Linked DNA regions of Homo sapiens: all the other regions are linked to region 1. Evidence: promoter capture Hi-C in human tissues and cell types (Jung and others, 2019). All regions are on one chromosome and are shown on one strand. The core of a region is centred on a gene start or on the middle of the fragment in contact, and the rest is flanking DNA. Distances in the headings are between cores, read along the strand shown. Region 1 holds the start of EPS15 (epidermal growth factor receptor pathway substrate 15). Region 2 overlaps NRDC (nardilysin convertase). Region 3 overlaps NRDC (nardilysin convertase).

Region 1 (3,634 bases), core at 319-2,818:
TGCTCTTGTTAGCTGGCCTTTGCCAGAAGGAGTCTGAGTAGAATTAGGAGTTCCTTGGGAAATTTCTGGAATGGTTTGCTTGTGGAGGCAATAGTCTAAAAACTTAGGTGGGGCTAACTCCATCCTGGGTCTTGTTCAGTTGTCCCTCCTACCACGGGGACTGCTATGATAATGGTAATGGGTGTAGGCCTGATAGAGTTGTGGTTTGTTGTAATGGGAAGCCATCGTGACTAAGAAATTAAGACCAATTCGGGCAAATACATTTATTGAGGCCTCTGTGGTAGGCTAAACTATGAGGGAGATAAAGCAGTGAGTCAGCCCCTTGTCCTCAAGGATTTTACAGTGCAGTGAGGTGGAGACAAACCCTCAACTAACGCTTACAGATAAGGCAGAGTATAAAAACGGTCACATCAGAACAACTTAGAGGTGGGGTGTGGAGTTCCTAGAAGGCTTCTTGAAGTAGGTGGTATATACTCTGAGACTTTGAAGATGAATTTCAAGTAACTGGGTATTCCAACTGAAGGTTGGCAGCATCAGAAGGTGTAGGATGTGTTATGTTTAATATAGGCAGGAACGAAGGCCTTTACTGAGCATGCACTGTAATGCTAGGGTCTGACGATATAGAAATATATTGAAAACAGTTCTTGCCATTGAGGAGCTCTTAATCTAGAGGGATAGATAGGTGTAAACTGTCATTAGGGTGATGACTTCACAAGGTAGAGAAGAAAGGTTATAAAGGAGAGTGTGTAACTCTGACATAAGGAAGAGAAAAAGATACTTTGCAAAGGAGGTGAAACTTGAATTATGTCCTGAGAAAGAAGGAGGAGTTTGCTAAGTGGATGATGGGAGAAGCTAGGAGTGCTACAGGCACCAGCGTTCCCTTGTTAAACAATCTAAATGTGACAGGCACCAGGCAAATACATTTTTGCTTCCCCTTTCCAAATGGATTTTGGCTGTGGGAGGGAATGACTTAATGTCTTCTTTTCCAATATACTAGCAGATGGTTAAATATTTACAGTTAGACTTGGATTCTAATTCAGCTATATAATTAGCTGTATGACCTTAGTAAGACACTTATTTGTGTTTCAGTTCCTTCATTCATACAATTCAAAAAATAAGAGTCTAGTACAGAGCCTGGCATATATAAAGTGCCATTATTATTTTCTATCATTATCTCATTTAGTCTTTGTAAGTAACTGGGCCTCTAGTTACAATTTCCCCCATTTTTCAGAAGCAGGAGCTCAGCGTAGGTAGGTGGCCTGTCTGAAGTTCACAGGTCAATCTGCAGTCGCCTCCGCAGCCCGTCCGCTTTAATTTTATGTCCGCGCCGGGTTTTCCAAGGCGGCCCCGGGGGCAGGCTCTGGTCCGGTGGCCGAGACTCCGGCGCCAGGGTTTGGGCGGCGCCGCGGCCGGCTCCGGCGGGCGGGCAGGCGGGCGGGGCCAGGCGGGGCGGGGCGGGCGTGGGGAGGGAAGTTGTGGAAGTTAGGGGAGACGCCCGCCCGCCCGCCCCGGCCTCGCCTGCGGCCGCTCCCTCCGCCTCCTCCCCGCCCCGAGCCCCAGTCAGCCCGTCTTCCTTCCCCTCCCTTGCATGATGGAAACACCATGGCTGCGGCGGCCCAGCTCTCTCTGACACAGGTAACGCCACACGCCCGTCCGCCGGGCTTGGCCGGCCGGTGCCCCCTCCCCCACCGCCCTCAGCTTCGCCGACTTCTTGGCTTGTGGGCCAAGCAGGCAGCTTCTTGGCTTGTGGGCCGGGCGGCCGGTGTGTGTGAGGGAAAGCGGGTGCGACTGCGGGAGGGCGCCCTCCGGAGCCGGAGCCCCCCTGCGGCCGCCGCGACCTCGCCCAGGGTCGTCGGGCGCCTCCTGCCCCGCCCCGCGCGGCCCTCGCCGCCCTCCGCGCCGCTGCCGAGTGGACTGTGACCCGGCCGCGCTCTGCCGGTGCCGGGCCGGCTCCCGCGGGGCAGCTTTCACCTACCCAGGAAGTTTCCTCCCACAGGGCCGCACGCATCCCAGGTGAGCTCCTGTTGAGCTCGCGCGGGCCGGCCGCACCCCCGGGCCGCACGAGGCTCGCCCGCCAGGCCGGCTGCGCGCCGCCCCCAGTAGGAGTTGCCTTCCAGAGCCGGACGCGCAGGCCCCCCAAGCCAGTCTTTCCTCTCCAGACCTGCCTTTCTCCCAGGGTCCGACGGAAGCCCTCCCTTCCCAGAGTTTAATGTAGTTAGCCTCGCCTCCAAAGAAGTCTCATCCTACTCAACTACCCACTCTGCCGGCCCCTTCCTCCGTTCAGCCTCTCCCCCCTCCTGATCAGGTTTCCTTCTGGGTCAGACCCCCAATGCAGCCTTTTGCCACCCACGTCTGCTTCCACTTCAACTTCCCCTCGGGGGGCTCACGCCTGATCGCTGTCCAGGTGGATCCCTTTAACGGGTGTGGTGGCTCCGCCAGTCTTGGTGCCAGGAACGGCCTCCCGGGGAGCACTTTTCTTGGGGGGAATCCTCAGCAAAACCTGTTCTCGAGCTTCCCTCTTGCCTCGTTGCTTCCTGTCAAAGTCCAGTCCTTGTGCTTCTCAGAAAACCTCTAAACATCACTCACACTGGGAACCTGGTCCCTCCCTCTCTGTAAAGAAGCCAATTACAATGTAAACATGGTGTCCGGGATGATAAGGTGACAGACACCTGCCAGTTCCTTCCTGCTCCTGTGACCCAAACTCTCCCCCGCGTCTCCTCAGACGGTTCTCTCCAGAGCTGGTGGCGCGTGCTTCCCGATTGGGGCCCATCCCGTCTTCCTTGCCTGCATTGTGGTATCTCACTGCCATCTTGTACTCCTTGGCCTAGATTCGTCGGTGCTTCTAAGGCTTTAGCGCTGGGATAGGGCAAACATTTCGGCAGTGGAGTTTTCTGTGTTTAAAATCAAGAGGCTTTGGGGTGCTTTGCCTAGCACTGTAGGATAGAGAGAAAAAAATGTTTTCTCAGAAACCAGGAGTCACGTACATGCTTCATGTAAAATAACTAACCCGTGTTTGCAGGAATTCTAAGTGTCATAAGGAAAGTCTATTTCCCAGTTTTTTTGATGGTGGTGGTGGTTGTCCTGTTCTGACAAGCAGAGAACCCTTTAACATGGAATGTGGTGGTTTAGTCTTGGTTATGTATGTTTGGAAGGGTCCTCCCAAAACTCAAATTTGAACAACTACAGCACTGACTTTTAGGTATTCACTTTCTGTGAGTCTAGTTAGTGACTTGCATTAAACAAGATCCCTGTTGGCAGGCTGTTGTTTTCTGGCTCTGTTGGCCAATTCTGGCAGGAGTTTTCCCTTGAAGATTTTGTGCTCTTAAAGACTTCCGTAAAATTGCTTCTCAGTTGTGTGCATACTTTATTCTCTCCCTGGGTAATACCATGTTTTTAGCTTCTATTTACATCATTCATCTCTGGAGAATTGCTTCAAGCTCTGTCAGTTTTATAGCCATTTAAAAAATTTACATATGTTCTTGGGTTATATATTTAGGTATTAATGTGTACACAGTAAGTACGGAATCAGTAGTAGCTATTATCCTTCAGTGCCTCACATATGAGATAATATACATTGGTGGTTAATTTTTATTGATAATTCAAATAAGTAAATTCAGAATATTCTGATTTTAAA
Region 2 (3,634 bases), core at 576-3,075, 350 kb before region 1:
TTAAAAACGAAGGGGGTTGGTTAGAACAGCAGTGTTTTTCAATAACCCTCCCCTTTCAGAAGAGCAGTTCTTCCATATTACCTGTTTTATATACTGGAGTTTCAATTAGACTTTTGAAGAAAAGATGTTATTAGTTTAAAATAAAGGTGGAAAGCCTCAGGACTAGGTGATCTTTAAAGACTTATCCAAATTCAATTCTATGAATTTTTGTAACCAGAAACACACTTAGACGCATCTGCAGCCCACAGAGCTGAATTATCCTTCCAGATTCTGCTGAGATATTCCCTCTGTGAAGTCTTTCTAGGCAGAACTAATTCCTCCTTCCATTGTATTTCAGTAGGATTTTGTGCACGATCCATTACAGTACATAGCATCATATTATATATCTTTTGAATAAGTACCAGAGGAGGACCCATTTAGAGGAATATTGTGGTGAAATAATACCTTGAAAGATTTACCAGTCTGCATTTATTAATAGCCTGCGGAATTTTACTTCAGCATATGTGTAATTTGTATTCCGCTTTTTTGAAATGTTGGGCATATTTCCAGGACACCTATTATGCTTTTTTAGGGATCTGTATTAAATGCTTACCAAGTATTGATTCCCTTCCCTTCTGGAAGGGTTAAGGGACTTCAGGTTGGGAATTGATATTCAAATTTTTATTGGTGTTGAGTGGAAATTCTGGTTGGGCAGGATTAGTAGTGGTGTATTCTATTTATTTTTTATTTTTATTTTTATTTTTGAGGCAGGGTCTCACTTTGTAACCCAGGCTGGAGTGCAGTGGCGCCATCACGGCTCACTGCAGCCTCGACCTCCCAGGCTTAGGTGATCCTTCCACCTCAGGCTCTCCAGTAGCTGGGACTACAGGCACGTGCCATCATGCCCAGCTAAGCTTTTGTAGAGATGAGATTTCGCCATTTTGCCTAGGCTGGTCTCAAACTCCTGACCTCAGATGATCTGCCCTCCTTGGCCTCCCATAGTGCTGGGATTACAGGCACAGGTGAGCCACTGCACCTGGCCTGGCTGTGGTGCATTCTGAATAGTAAATTTTAACAATGAAGAACACTTAACGTTAGGTATTTTGGATTGACTAAAACAAGTACAGAGCACTTTCCATGTTTAACCTGCTCGTAAAAAGACCTGTATTTCTATGGAGAAGGAAAGAACAAATGAAAAGGTATGTAAACTTCTTTTTTTTTTTTTTTAATGATTAAAAAAAATTTTGAGACAGGATTTCAATTCATCGCCCAGGCTGGAGTACAGAGGCACCATCACAACCTGCCCCACCATGTCCGGCTAATTTTTTGTAGAAATGGAGGTGGTGGTGGGGGCAGGTGTCTCACCAAGTTGCCCAGGCTGGTCTCGAACTCCTGACCTCAAGAGATCTGCCTGCCTCTGCCTCTCAAAGTGCTGGGATTACAGGTGTGAGCTACCACGCCCTGTCGAAAAGGCATATAAACTTCTGAAGGGCAAGTCCTTCTAATTTAAATTTTGGTCAGACTGTTACAAGTGAGGAGATGGTTATCTTAATAAATTTTCAGGCTGGGCGTGGGGGCTCACGCCTGTAATCCCAGCACTTTGGGAGGCGGAGGTGGGTGGATCATCTGAGGTCAGGAGTTCAAGACCAGCCTGGCCAACATGGTGAAACCCTGTCGCTACTAAAAATAAAAAAATTAGCCAGTTGTAGTGGCAGGTGCTTGTAATCCCAACTACTTGGGAGGCAGAGGCAGGGGAATCGCTTGAACTTGGGAGGCAGAGGTTGCAGTGAGCTGAAATTGTGCTACTGCATTCCAGCCTGGGCAACAGAGCAAGACTCTGTCTCAAACATAAATAAATAAATAAATAAATAAATAAATAAATAAATAAATAAAAATTCCATATATTATAGAAAATAATGGGTGGGTGTGTGCTGAATAAGGTACAGGCTATTTCTGAATATTATGTTGTTTACTATTATATGCTGTGGAACAGGAGGAGGATCACAATTCCAGTGAGTGGAACAGTTGCATTGAGAACACTAACATTTGTTGGCTTCCTGAATAGTTTGCTAGTGAAGTGGCTCACTTCTGAGCAGAAGCCTTTTGCTCACTTTGGCAGCACGTATACTGAGCAGAAGCCTTATACAAATCTGAGGTATCAGAAGAAAACTATACACCAGAAAACAAGAGAACTTTTTTTTTTGTATTGGATGGGAAGAACATAGGTTTATTTGTTGATATTTACAATGAAAACTCCTGGAACCGTAATGCTTCATTCAATACATGAGCCAGTAATTTCATTTGTGTGTGTTTCATTTCACACACACACAGACACACAAATATTGCTAAAATGATCACAAAATCTCACAGCTACAAAAGAAATCATTATGACTTCCATGTGTGTAAATTCCATGAGATTGACAATTCCTTAGTCTGATAACAAATGAACAAGTGAATCCAAATTTCTTTTTGTTTTGCACTCTCACTTGTCTTGTAAAGTAAAGGTAACCTAGGTATTACTTCACGAGATTCAAACTCATTTAACAAAGTAAGTGCTTTTAAGATTGAAATATGTTAAATCTTATGAATACTAGTATAACTTTAATAAACATATCTTTTGTCTCTTACTATTCCTTAGACTGATTTCCTTATTTTGTTTTGTTTTGTGTTTGAGACAGTCTGGGTCTGTCACCCAGGCTGGAGTGCAGTGGTGTGATCTCAACTCACTGCAGCCTCCACCTCCCAGGTTCAAGCCATCCTCCCCACCTTGGCCTCCTAAGTAGCTGGGACTACATGTGCACACCATCATGCCCAGCTAATTTTTGTCCTTTTTTGTAGAGTTGGGTTTCGCTCTGTTGCCCAGGCTAGTCTCAAACTCCTGAGCTCAATCAGCCCACCTTGGCCTCCCAAAGTGCTGGGAGTACTGGCATGAGCCACTGCACCGGGCCTGACTGATTTCTTTAAAGTGGGCTGATGGGCTAGTAAGAATAGAAAGAGTGTATATTGTTTCTAACTGAAGTTGTGTGTGTGTGTGTATGTCTGTGTGTTTTAGGAAAATAAGATTTAGCATTAAAAAGCTCTCTGTTGGCCAGGTGCAGTAGCTCACACCTGTAATCCTAGCACTTTGGGCGGCCAAGGCAGGAAGATCACCTGCCTCTGTCTCAAAAAAACAAAACCAGAACAAAAAACTCTCTGTTTTTCTGACTGGGCGCCGTGGCTCACGCCTGTAATCCCAGCACTTTGGGAGGCTGAGGCTGGTGGATCACGTGAGGTCAGGAGTTGGAGACCTACCTGGCCAACATGGTGAAACCCTGTCTCTACTAAAATACAAAAATTAGCTGGGTGTGGTGGCGGATGCCTGTAATCCCAGATACTGGGGAGGCTGAGGCAGGAGAATCGCTTGAACCCGGGAGGCAGAGGTTGCAGTGAGTCAAGATCGCGCCCACTGCACTCTAGGCTGGGCAACAGAACCAGACTGTCTCAAAAAGAAAACCAAAAAACAAACAAAAACGCCCTGTTTTTAAAGAACTGAATGATGGTAAAAGCTCTTTTGCTTTTAAGAAGCTTATGATCTGCTGTAGGAGAGTCAGGGAGCAGATACTGAAACTGAAATGCATTAAATATAATAGGTGCTAGAATAGGGATATGTAAAGTA
Region 3 (3,634 bases), core at 509-3,008, 320 kb before region 1:
AAAAAAATTAGTGTAAATGGGAGTGGTCTGTAATAGATACCTAGTCATCAAACTGGCACAGTAGTTTTGCAGATAAGAATCAGGAGCTTGAGATGGTGGCACATGCCTGTAATCCCAGCCACTCAGGAGGCTGAGGTGAGCTGCTTGAGCCCAAGAGTTTAAAATCAGCCTGGGCAGTAAAGCAAACTCTGTCTCAAAAAAAGCAGAATAATCTTCCTGCGGGGCTACCAGTCTGTGGGGGATTTCATTTTCATAGAGATATAACCACTTTTTAGTTCATAAAGGCAGCTTTGGAGACTGATATGTCAAACATTTTATAGAAAAGAAAATCAGCAGTTTAATTTTGTGTGATTTTGCTTTAATATTAAGCTGACATGACTGTTCTGTATATTGAGGGATACAATTTATCTTAGCCTAAGTCTTCTGGTATGATAGAATGTTTAAATACTTACAAACTGAGAAATAGGGGAGGCTGAGTGGTGAGTTGCATATCTTTAGCTACTAAAATGTGTTTTTTGAATAGGTAAATATATTTATGTAGTTCAAAATTTAAAAATACAAACAGCGTATATTATGAAGTGTTCTTACCTTCATTTCCCTCCAGCTGTTCAAAAACTGATTAGCTTTTGGGGTTCCCTCTCCAGAGCAACCAATTTTATTAGTTTACAAATAGTTGTGTGTGTGTGTGTTTGTACTTTTACTTGGATTCTTTTTTTAAAATTCTGCTAAGCTGATTACTTGTATTGGTGTAAAGAACAGCTGAATCAAAATGTGTGATTTTTTTTTTCTCCCCCCAGATACATCAAATTACAGAATGGCTTGCAGGCACTTCTGATTTCAGACCTAAGTAATATGGAAGGTAAAACAGGAAATACAACAGATGATGAAGAAGAAGAGGAGGTGGAGGAAGAAGAAGAAGATGATGATGAAGATTCTGGAGCTGAAATAGAAGATGACGATGAAGAGGGTTTTGATGATGAAGATGAGTTTGATGATGAACATGATGATGATCTTGATACTGAGGATAATGAATTGGAAGAATTAGAAGAGAGAGCAGAAGCTAGAAAAAAAACTACTGAAAAACAGGTGCGAGTCATGTCTGTTTTCTTCTAATTTGGGAATTCTTTGGGTAACTTCTAAACTCAAGCTTTATTTTTTAATGGCAAAAAGGAAGTATATAGTTATCTTTTGGTCTTCAGTAAAGGTCTATTCTGTATCAGGATTACATTTTGAAAACATTTTCCTCCAATTATAAAAGTAGTAAATGCTCATTATATAAACTAATGGAATATAAAGAAAACAAAAATATAAAAATCACCCATAGCTATATCTCTCAGAGGTAATCAACACTCAGAGGTATTTGAATTTATGTGTATTTGTATACATTATATGTTTTAAAAACAAATACTGGTAGATGAGGAGCTGCAGAATTCTTAGCCTGGATTAGAGAAATAAGAGTATGTTATCCTTGGTGAGACTGGAAAAAGAAGAAGAAAAGAATGGGGCTAGTGTGAAATCTTTACATGGGCCTAGGGCTCTAAGAGTTATTGTATGGGTGGCTTCTATATAGATAATTAGATAATTGAGTTTGATTTAGCACTTTATATGGGAACGCAAAGGTCTGGACAAATAAGTACTTTGGAAGAGTTGAAATAGAAACTGGGCAGTTAAGCTTATTTAATATGTAACAACCATCAGTGGATAGATAAATAAGTCTTGATAGGGAGAATTTCTTAATATCTTTTGAAGAATACCTCCATTTTCATAGTAGGGAGTACCCAGAGGATAATTTTCGGAGCCAGTACAGTGGAATTGACCAGCAAAAGTTAGTTAAAGCTAGTTTCTTGAATATTGATAATATATTCAACATGGTACAGTCTACATACAAAGAGGCCGAGATGGGCAGATCACTTGAGTCCAGGAGTTCTGAGACTAGCCTAGGTAATGTGGTGAAACCCTGTCTCTCTAAAACATTAAAAAAAATTAGCTGGGTGTGGTGGCACATGCCTGTGGTTCCAGCTACTTGACAGGCTGAAGATGGGAGGATCACCTGAGCCCAGGGAGGTTAAGGTTGCAGTGAGCTTTGATTACACCACTGCACTCCACCCTGGCCAACAGAGTGAGACTTTGTCTCAAAAAAAAAAAAAAAAAGAAAAAGAAAAAAAGTGGTCACCCTTAAAGGTGGGAAGAGTTGAGGTATAAGTAGTAGATATGATTTAATAGTTATTCTTCTTGGAAAAAATTATTTTTTAAAAAGAAAGATTGTACCAGTTTTTTACTAAGTTGTTGGATTGAGTAATATTTTTAAGAAGCTTTTTCCTGTTTACTACTCAGATTATTAGTGATCCTGTTTTTGGGTAGCATGATAGACCAAGTATTAAATAGTTTTAACTTGGAAGGCTGTAGAGATGAACATCAAAACACTGGGGGAAAAAAAGGTATATATATGTCACTTGATAGTCTGTATGCTAAGGTCTCTATGAACAGATTGGAAATTAATAGATTCACTTTTAACTTAAAATAGATCTCATAATTCCAAATAGAGCATTAATAGGAAGAAATTATAAAAGTCACAAAAAAAAAGAACACTGACAGTCAGGAAACCTGGGTTCTACTTCTGGCTCTGTTCCTTTCTTTCTGCGTGATTTTAGGTGTTTTCATTTTCTTTCTTTTTTTTCTCAGTTTTAAAACAAGAATATAAAATTCTGAGGCCTATTTTAGCTCTAAGCCAGACCATGTTATAACTTCTTAACTGAATACTTCTTATCTATACTTTTTTTCTATATCTTTCCATCTATCTGTAAGTAGCTTTTCCCATGATCTGACTTGTTTATATTTCCTATTAACTGACAAAGCATTTAAAAACAGTTAAAAATTGTCTCGACAGGCATTTTAAATGTCAAGACATTATAAAATACTTTAGATTTATACAGCAATTGTGAACACCTTTGACAAATGAACATGTCTGTTCAGCCTTTTTGGTACCCCTTTTTATTTTGCTTAGGTAGATCAAATTCTAAGTTGATCTTTTCTAGCAGCAGGGTCAGAGTCTAGTGATCGTTTTTAAAATGGCTTAGATGCTACCTTTCTTTTCTGAGAACTCAGTGTGATATAATCCTTATAAGATATTGACAGCTAATTTTATGGATTATCCTACCGGGACAGTGGAACCTAAGTAGTTTGAAGACGAGAAATTGTTTTGATTCAGAAGCAATGGGTTCACTAGTGAAAGGAAAGATCCCACGATCGTAAGTGGTAAATGTTTATATTTGTTGAATAACTCTCTGAAAAAAGGAAATAAAGTAGATTAGCCTTGGTAAGAGGTGGCTTAAGAGTGGTTTTATGATCTAAGTTTTATTTGAAAAATGTGTGAAACTTGTTTAAGGTAAATGTGAGAATTAATAAAGGAATTGAGAAGAAAGATATTTGATCGTTTTTTGAATAACATTTACCTAATTAAGAAGTTAACTACTTTTCTGAGGCATCTTTTTTATCCCTCTCCGTTTTCCTCCTCCCAAAAGAAGTTGTTCTTGATTTTAAAAGTTTGATAAATTAACAAGGTTGAAATTTGAATATGATATACATTGAATTAAGATTTGTTCAGGGCTTTCTTAATTCAGTTCTCAAGTATGAA

Evidence for each region. The method cuts DNA at HindIII sites, captures the fragments that hold promoters and counts their contacts. A contact is called where the count stands out against the background at its distance.
Region 2: a contact is called between a fragment that was not itself captured here and the fragment with the promoter of EPS15 in region 1, in 1 of the 25 tissues and cell types used here (liver).
Region 3: a fragment that was not itself captured here is called in contact with the fragment with the promoter of EPS15 in region 1 in 1 of the 25 tissues and cell types used here (aorta).

Annotation. Positions count from the first base shown.
Region 1 is chr1:51,517,200-51,520,833 of GRCh38, reverse strand. EPS15 (epidermal growth factor receptor pathway substrate 15) reads left to right here and starts at 1,568. Exons shown (of 25, transcript NM_001981.3): 1 at 1,568-1,635. The coding sequence starts at 1,603. It overlaps EPS15-AS1 (EPS15 antisense RNA 1), which reads right to left and starts at 2,562. Exons shown (of 5, transcript NR_183651.1): 1 at 2,388-2,562. It also overlaps a transcript of OSBPL9 not described here. RefSeq lists silencers at 1,345-1,534, 1,685-2,154 and an enhancer at 1,385-2,313. The HindIII fragment of the contact is 17,142 bases long and covers 1-3,634 here.
Region 2 is chr1:51,871,718-51,875,351 of GRCh38, reverse strand. All of the region lies in intron 1 of NRDC (nardilysin convertase), which reads left to right. Among named protein-coding and RNA genes, the nearest start is that of NRDC, 5.2 kb to the left of the region's middle. The HindIII fragment of the contact is 5,458 bases long and covers 1-3,634 here.
Region 3 is chr1:51,837,678-51,841,311 of GRCh38, reverse strand. NRDC (nardilysin convertase) reads left to right here. Exons shown (of 31, transcript NM_001101662.2): 2 at 798-1,086. Among named protein-coding and RNA genes, the nearest start is that of MIR761, 3.1 kb to the right of the region's middle. The HindIII fragment of the contact is 3,482 bases long and covers 18-3,499 here.